2 separate regions of the Homo sapiens genome follow, and region 1 is linked to region 2. Evidence: promoter capture Hi-C in 16 types of primary human blood cells and fetal thymus (Javierre and others, 2016). All regions are on one chromosome and are shown on one strand. The core of a region is centred on a gene start or on the middle of the fragment in contact, and the rest is flanking DNA. Distances in the headings are between cores, read along the strand shown.

The links. The method cuts DNA at HindIII sites, captures the fragments that hold promoters and counts their contacts. A CHiCAGO score of 5 or more calls a contact.
Region 1: a contact is called between a fragment that was not itself captured here and the fragment with the promoter of ZNF804B in region 2, in 1 of 17 cell types (naive CD4 T cells). The highest score is 6.1, in naive CD4 T cells.

The regions. Positions count from the first base shown.
Region 1 is chr7:89,776,863-89,780,978 of GRCh38, reverse strand. No RefSeq gene overlaps it. Among named protein-coding and RNA genes, the nearest start is that of STEAP1, 380 kb to the left of the region's middle. The HindIII fragment of the contact is 5,196 bases long and covers 1-4,116 here.
Region 2 is chr7:88,757,457-88,761,439 of GRCh38, reverse strand. It overlaps ZNF804B (zinc finger protein 804B), which reads right to left and starts at 1,740. Exons shown (of 4, transcript NM_181646.5): 1 at 1,356-1,740. The coding sequence starts at 1,463. RefSeq lists an enhancer at 1,050-1,594. The HindIII fragment of the contact is 11,667 bases long and covers 1-3,216 here.

The sequences.
Region 1 (4,116 bases), core at 984-3,483, 1.0 Mb before region 2:
AATAATCGTATGAAAACATGCTCAGCATCATTTTTTCATTAGAAAAATGCAAATTAAAACAACCATGAGATATCATTATACACCTATTAGAGTGGCTAAAAGCCAAAGAACAGACGATAGTGATTGCTGGTGAGGATGTGGAACAACTGGACCTCTCATTCTTGCTAGTGAGAATGCAAAATAATACAGCCACATTGGAAGACAACTGAAGCAGTTTCTTATAAAGTTAAACATAGTGAATCAGAATATTTTCTTTACCCCGTCATGGGACTCGCAACAGGAGTGCCTCACTTGCTTAGCTTTCCCCTGTCTACCACTCGCTGGAGGTAACATGAGGGCAAATGAGTGCAGGAAACAGAGCAAGTGCTTTTGACCGCTGGCAGGAACAAACTCCATTTACTCAGCTCACTGTGCTTATCCCCTTGTGGGAGGGAATAAGTAGGTGAATGAGTACAGGCTCTGGCTGACCATTTTTGGGCACCAGCAGCAGTGAACTCTGTGCAGTCCCTGTGGCAGCATCCAGGCGGGGGTGCCTGCTACTCCCAAAGCCCCAGAGGGTGTGTTACATGCTCATTTAGCTCTGCCATTCACGGATGGCTTAAGCATTAACAGCTCAGTGGACCTTTGCCTTTTCATGTGAGGCAGCTTCTTTCTGCCAGCAAGAGTAAAGGGCCAGTGTGACATTTTGTATCTGTATTCATCATTCCTGAGCTCTTGTCCAGCATCCATGAAAAATAAGGTCACACTAATGAATAGAACAACGGTAAATGCAAGGGACTTTATAGCTGATGATAGAGGCTTTCAGTGGGAAGGGGGGATGAAAACGGGATGAAGTTGGTAGGTAAACTTCCCCTGAAGTCCGGCTGTCTCCAGATGGATTCTTCTTTGAAGTTATGCCAACAAGTTGTGCCTCTGAAGTGAAGCTACTTCTCTCTGATGTCCAGCCATAGTCCCGTCTACCAGCTGAGTCTGGGGTTTTTATAGGCATAGGGTGGGGTGGGGCAGGGCAGGGCAGGGCAGGGCCATGAGTGATTTAGGAAAAGGTAACATTCCAGTGGGAAAACAGGGATGTAAGTTCTTACTTTGGGCCGCAGTTTCAGGCTTTTTCAGCTGGAGGGTGGAGTTTTGCCAAGGACCCGCTCTTTTCTGCCTCCTGTCCCTATCAATACTGTTACCATGCAGTTTAGCAATTGTCCACCTATATATTTATTCAACTTACTTAAAAACTTATATCTGTATTCCACATTCCAAAACTGCATGCAAATGCTTACAGCAATTTAATTCATATTAATAATTACCCAAAACTAGAAGCAACCAATATTTCCTTCAATAGGGGAAGGGGAAACAATCTGTGATGCATCCACATAATGGAATATTATTCAGCAATAAAAGTGAATGGCTATCAAACCATGAAAAGACATGGAGAGACTTCAAGTATATATTGCTAAATAAAAATCTGAAAAGATTACATACTGTATGATTCAATTTATATGACATTCTGGGAGAGGCACAACTATGAATACACTAAACAGATCAGTAGTGATGGTCCTGGGGAAAAGGAGAGAGTTGAATAGAAAAAGCACAGAGGATTTTTTATGATGGTGAAACTACACTAAACAGATCAGTGGTGATGGTCTTGGGGAAAAGGAGAGAGTTGAATAGAAAAAGCACAGAGGATTTTTTATGATGGTGAAACTATTCTGTATAGTACTGTAATGTTGCTTACCTGACATTATGCAGTTGTTAAAATGTGTAGAGCTGGTCAGGCCCACGGTGGTTCATGCTTGTAATCCCAGCACTGTGGGAGGTGGAGGTAGGTGGATCACCTGAGGTCAGGAGTTTGAGACCAGTCTGGCCAACATGGTGAAACCACATCTCTACTAAAAACTACAAATATTAGCCAGGTGTGTTGGAGGGTGCCTGTAATCCCAGCTGCTTAGGAGGCTGAGGCAGGAGAATCGCTTGAACCCGGGAGGTGGAGGTTGCAGTGAGCCGAGATCACACCACTTCACTCCAGCCTGGGCAGCAGAGGGAAACTCCATCTCAAAAAAAAAAAAAAATGCATAGAACTTTACAGCACAAAAAGTGAATCTTAATATATGCAAGTTAAAATGAGTTCATTTAAGATAGTAGGAGATCCCAGAATGGAAAGCAAAGTATGGTGCAAGAATCTAACTGTATTACAAGGACATGAAACAACCTCATTGAAAGGTGTGGAGGAAAAGAGTACTGACATAAGGAATTTTGGAAATAAATGAAGTCTGTGAGCCTAAAGGCAAAAAGAGCTCTATATAAGCACTGTACTCTAGTTGATAATAGTCATAATCCCACAGAAATATAGGTTAACACTTCATGTATACAAATTGAAAAATTACATAAATGGATCAAGGGAGCCAGGTTTCTCACTGTTGGTATAGTAGAAAACAGATAAGCAGATGCAGAAAGCTAGAATTTATCTATGTGGTAATGGATTTGAGTTGAGGACATTCATGTGAACTCCTCTTTAGCTTAAGACAGATACAGATAGATACTTGTAAAATATTTATAGATATGTAAATGTAAACAGAGTAGTATACATGTATATTTCCTTACTTTTTCATCTGAGAGGACCTAGAAAAAGTGATACTCTCATAGCAGTGAACATGCCTAGCATCCAGAGCTTGGTTTCTAATATGATTTTCCATAAAAATAACAGCCTGGGTTTCTTGGAAAAATGACTGGAGCCAAGAATGTACAAGGTGAGTCTAGAGCATATTGTGGAACCAGAAAGTAAGAAAGCATGCAAAAAAACACAATAATGGGGGTGTGTTAGAAGGGACACAGGAACCAAATGAAAGAGCTCCCAATGGCCAAAAGTGGAACAATTTGAGCAACAAGATATGAAGTGGTATTGGATTATAATTCAAAGTATAGGATAAAGACATAATGTTTATGTACTTTGCCCTCAAAGAGATGAAGTATTAACTCCCTACTCCTTAAGTGCGGGCTTTCCATAGCAACTTCTTTCCAATAAGAATGATAAAGAAGCAGGAAGGTAAACTTATAGTGGAAAAATCTGGTAAACATTACTTTAGCCAAGTGAACAAGGTTGACATCAACAATGATAAGTCATACTGATAATGTTGCCTTTAAATGATGTTATATTTTATGAAATTGGCATATATACTTTTATGGTCTTCTTTCCTAAAAACCTATAATCTCAATCTAACCATGAAAAAAACACCAGATGAATCTCAGTCAAGGGAAAATATGGCTAGTATTCTGCAAAACTGTCAATGTCATCAGAAACAAGGAAAAGTAAGAAACAAATTGCTAACAGCCAATAGGAACTTAAGAGGACATGACAGTTAAACATGTATCTTGATGGGACCTTGGAGAAAAAGGTACATTAAATAAAAACTAAAACTAAGGAAATCTTAACAAAGTATGTAATTTTCACTCATTGCAAATGGTACTGCAAAATAGTACAAATTTATGGTAGTAAATTTGCAAATATCTAACAAATCTGCATATGCACATCCTTTGACAAGCAAATCTATCTCTAGTTATTTATGCTGGTGGTCATCTGCACAAATATGCAACAATATATGCAAAGGGTTATTAATTAGCTAGATTTAACTATTCCACAATGTGTATACTCTTCAAAATATCATGTTGCACATAATAAAAACATACCATGTTTTTTGTCAATTGAAAAATATTGATGACAACTTAGACACATCTGTTATGAATTTACATTCAAAATTGAAAGTGAGGCAGCAGTAACAAGAAATGAGGATGCCATTTATATGCCGATGTGGCATAAACTTCAGGATATAGTGATAAGTCAAAACAGCAAGGTATGCAAGATGATATATAAAATGTTACCTTTTTTAATTAAACAGGACAATTGATATATGCATGTTTGCTTGTTTTTGCATAAAGAAGCTCAGGAAGTGATGCGTAGGAATGTCAGAATGTAGAAGATGTAGGGAGAGAATTGAGGGTTCTCTGACTATGCCTGTGTATATAGCTTTACATTATGAATCATGTAAAAAATGATTTACATTAAAAAAATGAGATCAGGCACATTCAGGGTGATCTGGCCATAGACAAAAATAAATTAAAAAATTAAAA
Region 2 (3,983 bases), core at 491-2,990:
GGGACTGAATGTGGGCTTTATTAAACTAGAACTCTGCAAGTGCCTGCTAACCCTGTGAGTTTAATTGTTAAGTACTTATACAAACAGTATTTTCCATCTAACAGTTCTGACTCAGTACTGTATACAGTTGTTGGGGGGAGCAGTTGCAACAACCCACTTTTTATAGTACATAAAAGCATGTGAAGGAATAGTTTGTCATGAGGAATCCTAGTGATATCTCTGGGCACCTGTACTTTCTGATCTTAGATTTCTCATGTAAATTACATATAGCATTTATTAATAATCAAAGGCTTTTATAATATGTTGCAGTTTTGAATAATTCATGCTAAAGAAGCATTAAACCATGATGGAAAATATCAAACATAAAAAAATTAAAGTTGGGCAATTTCAGTTTTCCCTCTTGATATCATACAGACTTAAATACTGTTTTTTATATGAAACCTCAAAAGTTGGTCTTTAAGTTTGGATACTTAGTCACTAGTAGTCCAAAACTAATATATATATATATTTATTATATATATATTTATTATATATATATTTATTATATATATATATAAATTACACACACATACACATTCACACACATTTTCTTGAAACATATTTGGAGCCTTAAAACATAATAGCATGTACCAAGAAATGAATTAATAATGTATTTAACTCATATAATCTGGATGAAATTATTTTATAAAAAGAATGTGAATAAACTGAATAGTAACTAAATTGAATAGTTTACTAAGTTAAAAAGCAATCACGTTAATTGCATGTTAATATATTTGTATATTATACAATAAATTATCCAACTCAGATTTCCATAAAGAATTCTCTTACTTCCCCTTAAAGAATGTGCATAGTTGAGCATTAGATATAATCAAGTTTTCACTACCTATAACTTTCCTTTTGCCAATGATTTGAGGGAAAATCTTTGAGTTTTTCTCACAAAGTAACAGTAGCATTATTAAACTAATCTCAACTGATGACTTTACAAAAGCACATTATAACGTGCCACTCAAACTTTCTACACTGCTCAAATCAGCAGATTCGTAAGTTGACATAGCACAGAGGAGCTACCTTCTGAGCCCTGCAGTTGACTGCATTCAGTAAGTATTTACATCCGTAGCACTATAGATCCTACTGACTGAATTGAAAATACACATGTAAATACACACCCCTCTCTGTGTCACAGTCTGTCAATAAATTGTATAAACGGACACGATGTATCTCCATACCTATGGATAAGGTATACGTTTTAGATGTCCACCACCTACTCATTGTATCAGGATACTATCTCTCAATATCTTTTTGTTTGTGTTGAGTTGGAACGTTTGTGTATGTATGTGTGTGCGCGCGCACATTACCGGAGAGGGAGATCCGTTCTTGCACAGGGGTCCCCTGAAGACTCCTTTAATGCCCCGGTAGTGCCCATTGCTGAGATGTCTCGAACTGATGACCAGGTAACAAGCCATGTGGGTCCGGGCGGAGGCGCAGAGTCTCAACTCCTCACCAGGCGACCAGCCGTGGAAAGCGGGCGGGTTTCTCAGCGGCAACAGCGACTACCACCTCCCGAGAAGACGCGGCCAGCAGGACGCAGGGGGAGGCGGTGGCAGCGCGTCCCTGCTCCGCGCCCCGTGCGGGGCTCCTGCTGCCGACAGCTGCTGCTCTGACAGAGGCGGCGGCGGCGACAGCACAGAGCACGGAGGGGACCCGGCGAGCCAGTCCACATGCTGCTCTGACGAGGTGGCTGCTCAACCGCGGGCCAGCGATATATTTATTTAAGGACAACTTCCAGGGTCCACCAGGGAATCAGGAATTCCCCCGCCCCTTTCCTCCCGCCCCCTGCCTTCGCGCCTGGCGCCTGCCCGGGGGATGCTCAGGCGCGGGTACCCATCGTCCGGCCGGGGGCGTCCTGGGCTGCTGGCTGCAGTGTGAAGATCCAGCAGCAGCCGCCGCCACCGCCGCTGCTTTGTGGGGAGAGTGGCGGGGAGTCCTTGGGAGCGCCAAAGCGCTGCCCCCGCTGCAGTCGGGAGAGGGCGGAGGAGGAGACGGGCGGGCCGGGGTGAGGACAGGGAGTTGGGGACGCGGCGACCTGTGCTTGAGGAGGGCAGTTAGCGCCTCTGCTGGGAGCTGTGGGCTCGGGGCTGCCCAGGAGGCTCAGGTGTGCTGTGGGGCGAGGCCAGGAGGTGACAGCTGCCGCTGCAGCCGCGGGGGGCTCTCGGGGCTGCAGGACCCGCCTCTCCCACCTCCCGGCCTCAGCCGCCCAGCCCCCCGGTTCTTCTGCCCTATCTCTGAGCCAACTTTCTACTGTTTGGGAGTCACCTGGGAGGACTGGGGAGGCTGTGGTGGAGGAGATGGGCAGGAGGAGGGCGTTTTCTTTACTCTTTCGTTGCCTGCTGGCCTTCAGCTTTTCTTCAGCGCTCTGGCTGACGGCGGCGTTGGCAGAAGCAACAGCTCCCCAGCCGGTTGCAAGAATGAGCTGTGCAGCCACAAATAGGGCAGACAGATTAGATGCGCCGTGGTAGGGAACGCACGGACGAGGAAAGTTTTGGGCAGAAAACTTATATAAGGTATAGAAACGAGACATGCATACGTATATGTGCATATACATGCACGTACCCAGAGTTATGAAGATTCACTTACAAGCCTTTCTGTATCTTAGCGAGGCACATATTTTTGGTCTCTATAAGACCTCTGTGCTTTCAAAACCCCCAATAATCACCCCTCTCAGAAGTGGTTTTTAACGGACCTTATTTCGTTTACCGTAATTTAAGCCACCAGGGAGCGAGCTGCACTGAGAATAAAAAGACCTGGGCAGAAATGTGCTCTGAAAGGAGAAGATAGCCCTCCCAGGGTTTGGAGACACCCTGCACTCTCCTCCACCCCGCGGTTGCTTAATGCGGTTCTGCAATCCATCTCTGCCTCACCTCGCCTTGTCTGTGCCTGGGAGAAGGTAAAGGTTCACCTCCTCTCAGTCTGTTGCTTCAGCGCTGGAATTGAAAGGCTACCGCCAATGCGCTAATTCTCCCCAGTATTGTCCTCTCCTGTCTCCCACAATGCCCCATTCGCATCCCGGTTGACATTGACACAAAAGCAGAAACAGGTTAAAAGGAAAAAAAAACTGTTAATTTAATTTTTCCTATTCAGGCAACTCATAAAATTCTTAAGCAAAAAAGGAACAAAAAAGAATCTAATTATAACTTTTGTAACTACCCAATAAAAGCTTGACTTTTTGTTTACATCATTACAATGGCTTAATATCCTTAATATTTTATTTAAAAAATACATAGATGTACTTCTCATTTTAAAGGTTTTATATAGTCTTTTAAAGTGTTTGCAAAGCTTCTGAGTATATAAGGGAAAAATGCCAATTCCTTGCAAACCTTCAGAATAAAAATTACTGAAACTGGGATAGTGCAATGTAAATCTCAGGAATTGTTTATTTTAAATAAATTGTTGGTAAGAACTTTTGAAATAAAAATAAATTTATAGAGCAGTGGCAGCAGATGCAACAGATCCATCTTCTCCTTTCTATTGATGTATTTAACACCACAACAATGGCATGTTTAACAACGTAGTGTTTGTTCAACTTACAGCTGTAAAGTGTTTCCTGAAGCTGAGAACAAGTAATATTACTAGTGTATAGACATTAGATGTATTTTATACAAAGAAAACAATGTATTTGCAAATAGTAAAACTTCAAAAATAGGTGAAATATTGACCAAAAAATGAATAAAGTGGAATTTTTGAAGAAGATAGTGTGGCTCAGTTGATAGTTACTATTTCACTCTGGATAAATAAATGTAGGTAGCAAACAGCATTGAGGACCAACGCATAAGCAACTTAGAATGGATTAGAAAGATGAATGATGTCATTTCTGTAAATAACAGCCCAAGGGTACTATGTCTTCTTCATTGAGCAAATATACTTCCTAATACTGCTTAATTATTTTTACGAATCAGCCATATTTTTATAAAATGGAAGGATGGATA